Linked DNA regions of Homo sapiens: region 1 is linked to region 2. Evidence: promoter capture Hi-C in human tissues and cell types (Jung and others, 2019). All regions are on one chromosome and are shown on one strand. Each heading gives the region's core, a stretch centred on a gene start or on the middle of the fragment in contact. The rest is flanking DNA. Distances are from core to core; before and after follow the strand shown. Region 1 has its middle 16 kb from the start of RGMB-AS1. Region 2 holds the start of RIOK2 (RIO kinase 2).

Region 1 (5,722 bases), core at 1,480-3,979, 1.6 Mb before region 2:
TTTTAGTTCATTCATGTAATTTTGTTGAGAATATACTATAGCCAGGCAAAAGTGGAAGCTGAGAGGCCTGTGGGGTGGTTTTTAAAATAATCTGTGCAAGAGATGGTAATGGCTCAAACCATAGGGTTAGCAACGGAATTGGTTAGAAGTGATAGGATTCCGGATGTATTTTGAGGTTAAAACCAAAAGGATTCCTTCCTTGGTAGATTGGATGGGGATGCTTGAGAAAAAGAGGAGTCAAGAATGACTTCCAGGGTTTTGGCTTGAGCTGCCATCAAGATGGAATTGCCACTGGGCACTATGGCTTATACCTGTAATCCTAGCACTTTGGGAGGCCAAGGTGGAGCCAGAAGTTCAAGGCCAGCCTCTGCAACATGGTGAAACCCCATCTCTACAAAAAAAAAACCCACAAAAAACAAAAATTAGGTGGGCATGGTGGTGTGTACCTGTGTTCCTAGCTACTTGGGCAGCTGAGGTGGGAGGATCACCTGAGCCCAGGGAGGTTGAGCCTGCAGTGAGCTGTGACTGTGCCACTGCACTCCAGCCTGGGAGACAGAATAAGACCCTCTCTCAAAAAAAAAAAAAAAGAAAAAAAAGAAAAAAAATTGGATTTGCCATCAACTAAGAGTTGAAATAGGTTTTTCTAGACAAAATGCACCAGACAATTAAGGGGATGGTTTTATAAAGTCTGTTGTAATAGGGAGATAGTTCATTAACTAGGATGATCTCAAAGATAAGAAAAGAGGCCTTGCATGAAGGGCAGATAGGCAAGAATGTCACCAGGTTATCTTCTGAGAATGGTGAGAAGGAGTTGAGAGGGCTCTTAACTGAGTCATTAAGGAAGGTAGAGATGGGTTATCTTGGAATATTAAAGGGCGGGATGGTTCTTTGTGGTTCCCCATTTATTTGAACACAAGCGAGTGAGAGCACAGGGCTAAGATAAAGTTAAACATTGTCAGGGGAAAAGCACGAGTTTAATTTTGGACTTACTAAATTTAAGATTTGTTCAAACTCCTAGTGAGAATTTCTCCATTATTTCTTTGTGTTTGTTGCATCCATCCCTGAATTCTCACATTGCATGTAAAAATATGTCATTTGAATAACCAGTTTTTATTAAATTTCAGCAGACAGATGTAGGCAATGAATTATTTTCTTTTTATTATATAAATAGTTTCATTTTTAACAGCCTTCACAGTACTAAACGATCTATTTCAACAAAATTGGAGCCTTCACCTGCCACCAGATATCCTGTATCTCAGTGACAGGCTTCATGAATCATGAAAGACTGCAAGGCGCTTACCATGATTGACTTCATATTCACACCTATCTACATATATGATGTGTTCTCTCCCTTTTAGACACTTAGATGTACATTAAATTAGGAAAATTATACCTTTCTTTAGTAAATTCTCTTAAAGTTACATGAAAATATTTTTGATAACTACATACAATAAAATACATGGAATGGTGTGTTTAGTTATAACATTACAGGTTCTTGGTCTAGATTTCTCCCAAAGTCCTCTCAACACTCCTCATAGAATATCTCATATTTCATATGACATCCAGGAAAGCCAAAGTTTGATCAAAGTGGTCAGAGAAGTGATAAGAAATGTGGACCTTTAAGGGAAGAGGCTGGAAAAAAAGTAGACTGCAGATTATATGTATCTTGGAATGAGAAAAGATGAGAATATACAGGGTTTAGGTAGGAAAGAATGTGTTGAGAAGTTTAATTTAAGGCACAGAAGATAGAGTAAGAGTAATCCATATTCCAAGGACAAAAGGCACTTCTGAAAGGTAAAATATCATAAACAAGCTTTGTCTGCAAATTTGGGAACCTGAGTTAGAACATTCCCTTTATTTTGAGGGAAAGGATAACTTGGTCTTAAAATAATCTATATTTGGTGATCTCCTTCCTTTGGTTTTTCTGGAAAGAAAATTAAAAACAAAAATAAACAACAAACAAACAAAACACTCTTATTTGGGATCTACTCTAGCATTGCCTCTCTTCGACTTTAGAAAAGCATCATTTTAACTAAATTTGATTAATTAATGAAGGAAATGAGACCCAGAAACCAATGCAAACTCTGCACTAAATGTATTATCACACTTAATTCTCACAACAATTGTCCAATCCTAGATACCTTCATTTTCTATATTCTACAGATAAGGAAATTTAGAGAATTGAGGAAACTTACTAAATCATGACTTTATTTTTTTGTGCATGGTAAGAAGTTGAAGAGGTAGGATATATATTAGTCAGTTTTCACAATGCTGATAAAAACATACCCAAGACTGGGCAATTCACAAAAGAAAGAGGTTTATTGGACTTACAGTTCCACATGGTTGGGGAGGCCTCACAGTCATGGCAGAAGGCAAGGAGGAGCAAGTCACATCTTACATGGATGGTAGCAGGCAAAGAGAGAGAGCTTGTGCAGAGAAACTACTGCTTTTAAAACCATCAGCTCTTGTGAGACCCATTCACTATCACGAGAACAGTACAGGAAAGACCCGCCCCCATGATTGAGTCAATCATCTCCCACCAGGTCCCTCCCACAACATGTGGCAATTATGGGAGCTACAAAATGAGATTTGGGTGGGGTCACAGAGCCAAACCATATTAGATGCAAACCCATACGTATAGCTCTAAAAAGTCTTTTAACCATTACACTTACTACTACTTTCTATTTATGTATTACTCAAGAGTTCTATAATTTCCCCTTTGCTGCCTTTTCTTTTTCTGGACTATTAACTTTCTTTCTTTTCTTTTTTTTTTGAGATGGAGTCTCGCTCTGTCGCCCAGGCTGGGGTGCAATGGCGTGATCTCGGCTCACTGCCAGCTCCGCCTCCCAGGTTCACGCCATTCTCCTGCCTCAGCCTCCCGAGTAGCTGGGACCACAGGCACCTGCCACCATGCCCGGCTAATTTTTTGTATTTTTAGTAGAGACGGGGTTTCACCGTGTTAGTCAGGATGGTCTTGATCTCCTGACCTCGTGATCTGTCCGCCTCGGCCTCCCAAAGTGCTGGGATTACAGGCGTGAGCCACCGCACCCAGCCTAACTTTCTATAACTTTTGCCATGAAGGTATTTCTTTCTTAACCTTTTATTAATTCCTCTATTCTCTTCTGAATGATGTAATTGGACTATCTGTTATTACATAATTCTGCCACAATGAACTTCAAATTTCACTTGTCCTAAAGCAAAGTGATGCAAATGAAATTCACTCAATGTATTAAATACTATTTTAAATGAAGAATAAAATATAGCATTTTTGTGTTAGTGACACATTATTGATACTTTCCGTTTTTCTCATACTTTTCAGTGTTTTGTTCTTGTTAGTGTTTTGTAGTACTCACCATTTTCTGTGTAAACCACTTCACATTTTTCCTTTATTGAATGTTGCATTTTATCGTTTTTCACCCATTTCTCAAACTTTTCATGCTTATATTCGACTTTAATCTTAATTTTCTAAAACACTGTAATTCTAACCATTTATAAGTTTGATTAGTATTAACATCTCCACTCAAAGCTGTTAATAAAAATGTTGAATGATACTGGGTTCTAAAGGACCTCTGTGGAACTCTAAGTAGCATTTTCTCCCAGTCAGGATACCTTACATTTATAATTACTTTTGGGGTTTGATTTTTTTCAGGGGGGCCAAATGCCATGTTCTTTTATAGCAATGTCATTCTAACCAATAATTTAATTTTAGTTTCTTCCATCTCTAGGATCTTAGTCATAGACGAAATTGTGTATACTTAGTATTGGCTTTCATAAGAATTTCTATGTAAAGCTATTTTGGCTGCAAGTCCTGTTAGTCATTTTGCCTTCTCAGCTGCCAAAATTCTAATTGTCCCCAAGGGCTGCCCGCAAATACAAACTCACTTAAAAACAAACAAACAGATCGCATGCACCTGCAATACTCATAACCTAGTGACTTTGGGAATGCATTTCCAGCTATGACTCCTGCTGCTGGTCAATACTGGGTAATCCCAGTGAGTCAATAAAGAAATAATGAAGCCATGTATCTTGAACTCATTGCCCAAAATTTACCTTTCTAACATTTATCTCATGGAATCTGAGTCTCAGAATGTTCCTTGGTTTTTCTGTACTGTTTTTGCAAGGCACTCTCTGTTAACTCAATGATTTTCTTAAACTATCAAGATGGATTTCAAGCGGGATGTCAATCAAATCCCATTTTCTGATGTGAAACTTCTAGTATCTGTTTGGGTTTCTGCCAGAATAGATTTACTCTAGGTAAGTCTTCAAGCCAAAACTTTGGTTTCTATTTTCTTAAAAATAACAATAAAATACAGCTCAAAGGGACTTTTTTTGGTTATCCTTCAGAGTACATTTCTAATTGAGAGGGTTTTAAAAACTAATTTGACATTTTAAATTAAATAGGAGAAAAAAATCCTGTTATGTTGTCTCAGTATATCTTCTATTATTGTCCCTTTTTTTCTGGGAATAATAAGTGATTGATAGAACACTTGGAGCTTTCTAATCCTGCACTCTCTCATCTGATTTGACAAGTTTGCTGCTACCATTGTCATACCACAATTTAGAGCTATAAGATTCTATGCTATTTTGAGGTGAATTGTATCATAATTGTTTTAGGGTTTTTAAAAAAGGTTTTGATTATATCATAACCATATGAATTCTTAACTGATGCACAGAAAATTGCTAAGTGTGGTAGTTTTAAAAATATCTACTTTATAGATATTTTATCACATATTATTTTGAAGTCCTAGACATGAACAGAAACTTATTTATTGAGTAAATAAACATTTATATAGGGAAAATAGAGATGCCCTGGTTCATTACTTAAAACACATTTTATTAATAGAACAATTTAAATAATTGTCCTACCATAATACAAAGAAAACAATAAGTGATGTCACCTTGGAAATATATATAACAGATGAAGTATAATATATATGTCACTTTCCTGGTATGCAAATCAGCCTGAGGGAAAAATATTCTTCAGAAAAAAAAATGCTTCCTGAGAAACACTTGATGTTGGAAGAACAATTCACTTTATTTTCTATTTGTGGCACTCAACTCTCCACACTTTGGAGGCATATATTTTTATTAGTTTGCATTATGCAGCATGTTCACAAGAAAGAGACACAAAGATGCATTGGAACAAAGCAAACAAGAAATCAGAGAGGCAGACACACAATGAAAACATAATGCAGAACATTAAAGTTTTTGTTAAATGGGAAAACTGTTTGCACACTACAGCTAAAATCTATGAGAAAGAGACAATTCAAAATTTAGCCTAAGCTGCTTTTAGTGATAAGACATATCAGGGGAAGCTTCAGTGTTTCAGATACATTTCCCTTTCCTCATCCAAAGCACATTTGCTGGCCTATTATTGTCACATTTCTCCTTCCCCAAATAAAACTCCTTTTAGCTAGCATTTTCCTCAGGAGAATGTACAATAACAGTGTGCCCAAATGGAATTCAGGGAAGAATGAAAATAGGTGAAAAGCATCCTGGGTAATGGAAGTTAAAATTATAAAGTCTGTGCTCCAAACTTGAAAGACTACAGTTCACGTGGTTTTTGCTAATCGACTAGTCCAGTGGATTTCAGTGTGGTCCCTGGTCCAACAGCAACAGCATCACCTGAGAATTTGTTAGAGGTGAAAATTCTCAGGCCTCATCCCAGATCTACTGGATCAGAATCTCTGAGGATGGGGCCCAGCAACCTGTGTTTTAACAA
Region 2 (5,787 bases), core at 1-2,500:
ATACTTGTAACAAAATTTCTCACGTACCCCATAAATTTGTACAAATAAAGTTAGTCACTTGGTTTTTTTAAAAACTTTTCGCCCAGGCGCGGTGGCTTATGCCTGTAATCCCAGCACTTTGGGAGACTGAGGGGGGCGGATCACCTGAGGCCAGGAGTTTGAAACCAGTCTGGTCAACAGGGCGAAACCCCATCTCTACTAAAAATAAAAATATTAGCAGGGCGTGGTGGTGTGAGCCTATAATCCCAGCTACTTAGGAGGCTGAGGGAGAAGAATCCCTTGAACCTAGAGGGCAGAGGTTGCAGTGAGCCAAGATCGCGCCCCTGTACTTCAGTCTGGGTGACAGAGCCGGGCTCTGTCTCAAAAATAAAAAAAAAATTCATTTCTATGCCTTCTTATGTAAGTACAGAAAGAAAAATTCCGTTTAAATGGAGATGTTCATTGGTTGAAGATGGTTAATCAAAGACATGCTGCATTCAAGTAAAAAGCAGACAAAGGCTTGAATATCGAGGAGTTGCAGAGCCAGTATGGGTAACTATTCTAAAATCCTTAAATCGCTCCTGGGCCCTCGAAGTCCTACCCGCGTAGGTCAGCCCGAACTATCAAAATCCCCACTTCCTCTGGAGGTAAGGACGTCCGCCGCGCTCTCCACGTGTCACCTTAAACTCCCACCCCAACCAGCGCAGGCGCACTTCGAAGCCTCCTAGACCAACCTAAGAGAAGTACTGAGCAAGCGCATGAGTTCCATTAACCACGCCCTCCGGAGCTGCCGGAGCAGGCGCAATTAGGAGTAGAGGGCGTGCTTGTGTGATTACAGTCCACTTTACCTTTAACAGATTTGGTTGTCTGGACTCTAGCTCAGGTTCTTTTACCCCTGTCTTGTTGGAAGTCACTTTGCCTAGAGTAGAAGTTGTTTGCGGGAAAAATTTGCTCCTCCCATTAAGTAACCACTTTGCTCTCTGAGGCGGAACGTGTCATTGAGGCAGCAAGTCCTGACAGATATGGAAAAAAAAAGGCACATTGTAGAGAATATCTACACTCCGCCAACTCAGTCACAACGCAAAAATTACACAAAAATAAAACGTTCACTTGTTACATACTATGTGTTTCATAAGACATACAAGTAGTTTTATTTTCCTATATCAATGAGAACAGCACTTCTAACTATTAACAAGGACCTATACTAAGACGCAGCGCGTGCGCGAGCCATCTGGCGCTGTAAAGCGCTTAGAGGCTGGAATAACGACCTGCCTTACGCTTTGCGGCTGTCGTCGGAGAGGCATCTGGGTTCGGACTGGGGCCGCCATGGGGAAAGTGAATGTGGCCAAGTTGCGTTACATGAGCCGAGATGACTTCAGGGTCTTGACCGCGGTAAGAAACCCGCCGTTCCTGTTCTCCCTTCCCCTTAACACTGTGTGACCTCTTCCTGTTCCTGCAAGTTTTCTGGGATCTGAGCAGGCACACTCTGGGACCCGGGACGTGGCAGAAGCTGGGAATGGAGAAGAGAGCATTCAGAAAGTCGGATTTTTAAAAAGGTTTTGTTTGGGAGCTTACCTTCCCCCAGATAGAGCAAAGGTCCCGTCTTCTAATAATTGTTTTCTTTTCTGCTGCTATTCGCTTTGCGCTGAAGAGAAACGCTTGCATCTCTGTGGCCTGGAAACTTCTCTGATCCTGAGCTTCCGACCAGCTGTGAAAGGTTTAAGCCCCCCCCCCCCCCCGAGATTTGATAATATTGACTTCCCTACTAACAGACTCAGTCGCATAGCAGTCTTTCTGATTCATTCAGTCAACACATATTTGTCGGTTTTTTAGTAGCAACATTAGGAGGTTCACTTGTTCAAACAGACAAGTGGAGAGAGAGACACAGATCATCAAGTAAACGAAAAATAGGATAATGGATAAATGCTATGAAAATGATAAAGGATAATGGCATAGAAAGTATATGTATCTGGTGGAGAGGAGGGGCACAAGTTATTGGCCTTTGGTAGACAATCAATAAATATTCACTAAATGAAAGAATGAATGGGGGAATAATAGGAGCTGTGTGAGAAAGAGACAGCCCAGTGAAGTCCTTGGAAAGAGTTGGAGGCAGAGGAAACAGCAGTAGTAAGTGCAAAGGCCTTGAGACAGAAAAGTCTTTGAAGAGAGGAAAGGCCAATGTAATGTGGCTGGAGCAAAGTGAGATGCACACTAATGGTTGGAGATGTAGCGGAAAAGGTGAGAAATTATGTACTACAGAGCCTTGGAGGTTTGGTAAAGAATGTGGGGGTAACCACTAAATGTTTTTAATCAGGGGAGTAACAAAATCTGATTTTATGGCCTCAGTCTTATGGCACAGAAATTAATATATAGATCAAGACATTTGTACATTTATTTAGGAGCCGTTATCTTTTGGTAAGGAGTGAACCCCATGATAAGGACTACCTATATTGTGTAATTATGTAATAGGATATGCGATGTGAGTCACACTGGTTCTTGCATTATGTTAAGGCTTCAAGTTTTGGATTTTTAAAATTAATCTTAAATAGCGCTTAAGTATTAAACTATCAAATGCAAAATCAGTGTGAAATTTGGAAGACAATGTTTACTTTGCCTCTCATGTAGATTCTTCTAATCAGCTGGACTTTCTCTATGAAAACCTACTATCACTTCGGAAAGATACCTTCCTTTCCTGCTTTCTCAGCACACTCATTCCTTAGTGTCTCTGACAGAAGTAGGGGTCAAAAGTAAGAGTGTTAGAGGACGGGGGAGGCAGAGACAAAGCATGGAAAATAAGTTAAATTTAAAAGTTAAGGTTTTGGTGAGACATCAAAATGATGCCAGATTTATCTTCCAAAACATTGGCGCTGCAATATTTAAATTATTTGTAAAGTTCACCAAGAAATGACTTAGTCATTAAATATGACATTCCGGTCTCAGTTGAATCTCACCAGTGTTGGTACCCTTTCTTGGGCCTCTCTTCCCTTTTACTTCTTTGGCTCCTCCTATATCAATAATCATTGTTTGACTAGCTGCCCTTAGCTTTCAATATGAACTTGCCCCAGAATTCTGCTCCCAAACATTCCTTTTCTTCCATTATCTCCTGCTCAGTGATAGCATCCACTTCACATCTTCAACTCTCACTTCTATAAAATAATTGACAATTTTTCCTTCTAATTATAACTTCATTCCTAAATATAGGCCCCTTTCCTATTTAATTTTCTCTCTTTCTTTTTTTTTTTTTTTTGAGACGGAGTCTTATTCTGTTGCCAGGCTGGAGTGCAGTGGCACAATCTCAGCTCACTGCAACCTTCACCTTCTGGGTTCAAGCGATTCTCCTGCCTCAGCCTCCCAAGTAGCTGGGACTATAGGCGCACACCACCACGCCCAGCTAATTTTTGTATTTTTAGTAGAGATGGGGTTTCACCATGTTGGCCAGAATGGTCTCGATCTCTTGACCTCGTGATCCACCCACCTTGGCCTCCCAAAGTGCTGGGATTACAGGTGTGAGCCACTGCACCTGGCCTCCAGTTTTCCTTTAAACATTTTTATTTGACTCTCAGTGCTCAAACCAAATTCAATTTTTTTCTACCCCCTTTCTCTTTTCCCAAGCTCTATAAAAAAAAAAAATAATAAAATCTTAAAACTTGCTTTTCCTCATCACTTCCAATTGTGGCTTTCCGTTCCCTTTACCCTTCCACATCTAATTGCCAAGCTCTCCCATAATACTTCCTAAAGATTTTTATTCCTTCCTTCCAGTACCACTACCACTTACCCTGTTCTGGTGGCTCTTTCCTCTGAGCTGGACTTCTGTCTTAGTTCTCCGGAGTACCCCCTCAGATTTTGCCATCTCTAAGCCAATTTGCATATTCCTGGTACATTAATGTCCTTAAAATAACCCTGTTCGTGTGTCTCCCACGCCTAAACATCTTCAAGAGCTTCCTGCTCTCATCAGGATAAAATATAAAAGTATTTGGTCTACATTTTAATGCCTTCTCTATCCTAGAAGTATCTTCCAGCCGCGTTTGCATGAATTCTATATGCTATCCCATCTGAGCTGCTACTGTACTCAGCTATTCTCTGTGGTCAGTACTTTCTTGCATATGTGCCATTTTCAAATCTTTTTCTTTCACTAATATCCCCTTGTCTGTTTTCTCTGTATGCCCACATCTTTTAAAAGTCAGTCTCTAGTTTTGCATCTTCCTTGGAACTGATCCCTCAGCTAGAAGTATTCTTATTCTGCCCTGAGCTACCTTTTTAAGCACTTATCACTTCTTAACTTCTAATAAACTTAGATGTATACCATTTTTTAAAATTTCCATCATGAGATAAAAATTTCTCAGAGGTAAAAAGCACATATATATATATATATATACATATATATATATATACATATACACATGCAGAAGAGCATGTAGGATAGAGATATATATATATGTGCTTTTTACCTCTGAGGAATAAATTTAAAAATATATATATAATATATATATTATATATATATTATATATATATAATATATATATATTTTATATATATATATTATATATATATATAAAATACTTTTAAGTTCTGGGGTACATGTGCAGAACGTGCAGGTTTGTTACATAGGTATACACATGCTATAGTGGTTTGCTGTACCCATCAACCCATCCCATCTACATTAGGTATTTCTCCTAATGCTATCCCTCCCCTAGCCCCCCACCCCCCGACAGGCCCCAGTGTGTGATGTTCCCCTTTCTGTGTCCACGTATTCTTACTGTTCAACTCCCACTTATGAGTGAGAAAATGTGGTGTTTGGTTTTCTGCTCTTGTGTTAGTTTTCTGAGAATGATGGTTTCCAGCTTCACCCATGTCCCTGCAAAAGGCATGAACTCATCCTTTTTTATGGCTGCATAGTATTCCATGGTGTATATGTGCCACATTTTCTTTATCCAGTCTATCATTCATATATATATATATATCCTCTACGATGCCTACATGTAGTACTTTCTCATTAAATACCTGCTTAATAAATATCTGGCATATCTGTAGTTTTTAAAGACAAATGTTTAGGTGTCATCAAGTATTTTAGCATTGACCAAATGTCATCAGTATGTCTAGCACTCACAGTTCCTACTCTTGAAATGGAAAGCCAATACAAATATCAATGATTAGATTTCAAATTGCAATTAAAAATATTTTCAAGAGACGGAAGTGATTATGTCTCAGAATTAGTTGGAGAACTGCATAGTCAGGAAAGCTTCAAGGAGAAGTTAATTTCGCAGGGTTTTGATAGACAAGGCTTTGTGTTGATTATGATTATATAATGATTCCTTTAATTTCAGGTTGAAATGGGCATGAAGAACCATGAAATTGTTCCCGGCAGTTTGATTGCTTCTATAGCCAGCCTTAAACATGGTGGCTGTAATAAAGTTTTAAGAGAATTAGTGAAACATAAACTCATAGCTTGGGAGCGTACCAAAAGTAAGTATTTTGAGGCACCATTTGTGATTTTTCAGGTAATTGGTTTCCACCAGAGCAAGTGTTCCAAAAGTCAAGAAGTAGAAGTTGCCAGACTAGTAAAGCATTAGACGAAGAACTGACAGAACACACTTCGGCCATATCCTATTAGTCAAAATAATCACAGGGCACACCCAGATCAAAGGAGGTGAAAAAAGAATAGTAGTAAGAACATGTAGGTACTGCAGAAGAGCATGTAGGTACTGCAGAAGAGCACGTAGAGTACTGCAGAAGAGCATGTAGAGTACTGCAGAAGAGCATGTAGAGTACTGCAGAAGAGCACGTAGGTACTGCAGAAGAGCACGTAGG

Evidence for each region. The method cuts DNA at HindIII sites, captures the fragments that hold promoters and counts their contacts. A contact is called where the count stands out against the background at its distance.
Region 1: a fragment that was not itself captured here is called in contact with the fragment with the promoter of RIOK2 in region 2 in 1 of the 25 tissues and cell types used here (dorsolateral prefrontal cortex).

What each region holds. Positions count from the first base shown.
Region 1 is chr5:98,753,730-98,759,451 of GRCh38, reverse strand. No RefSeq gene overlaps it. Among named protein-coding and RNA genes, the nearest start is that of RGMB-AS1, 16 kb to the left of the region's middle. The HindIII fragment of the contact is 6,037 bases long and covers 1-5,722 here.
Region 2 is chr5:97,178,710-97,184,496 of GRCh38, reverse strand. RIOK2 (RIO kinase 2) reads left to right here and starts at 1,250. Exons shown (of 10, transcript NM_018343.3): 1 at 1,250-1,371; 2 at 5,304-5,442. The coding sequence starts at 1,306. The HindIII fragment of the contact is 15,072 bases long and covers 1-5,787 here.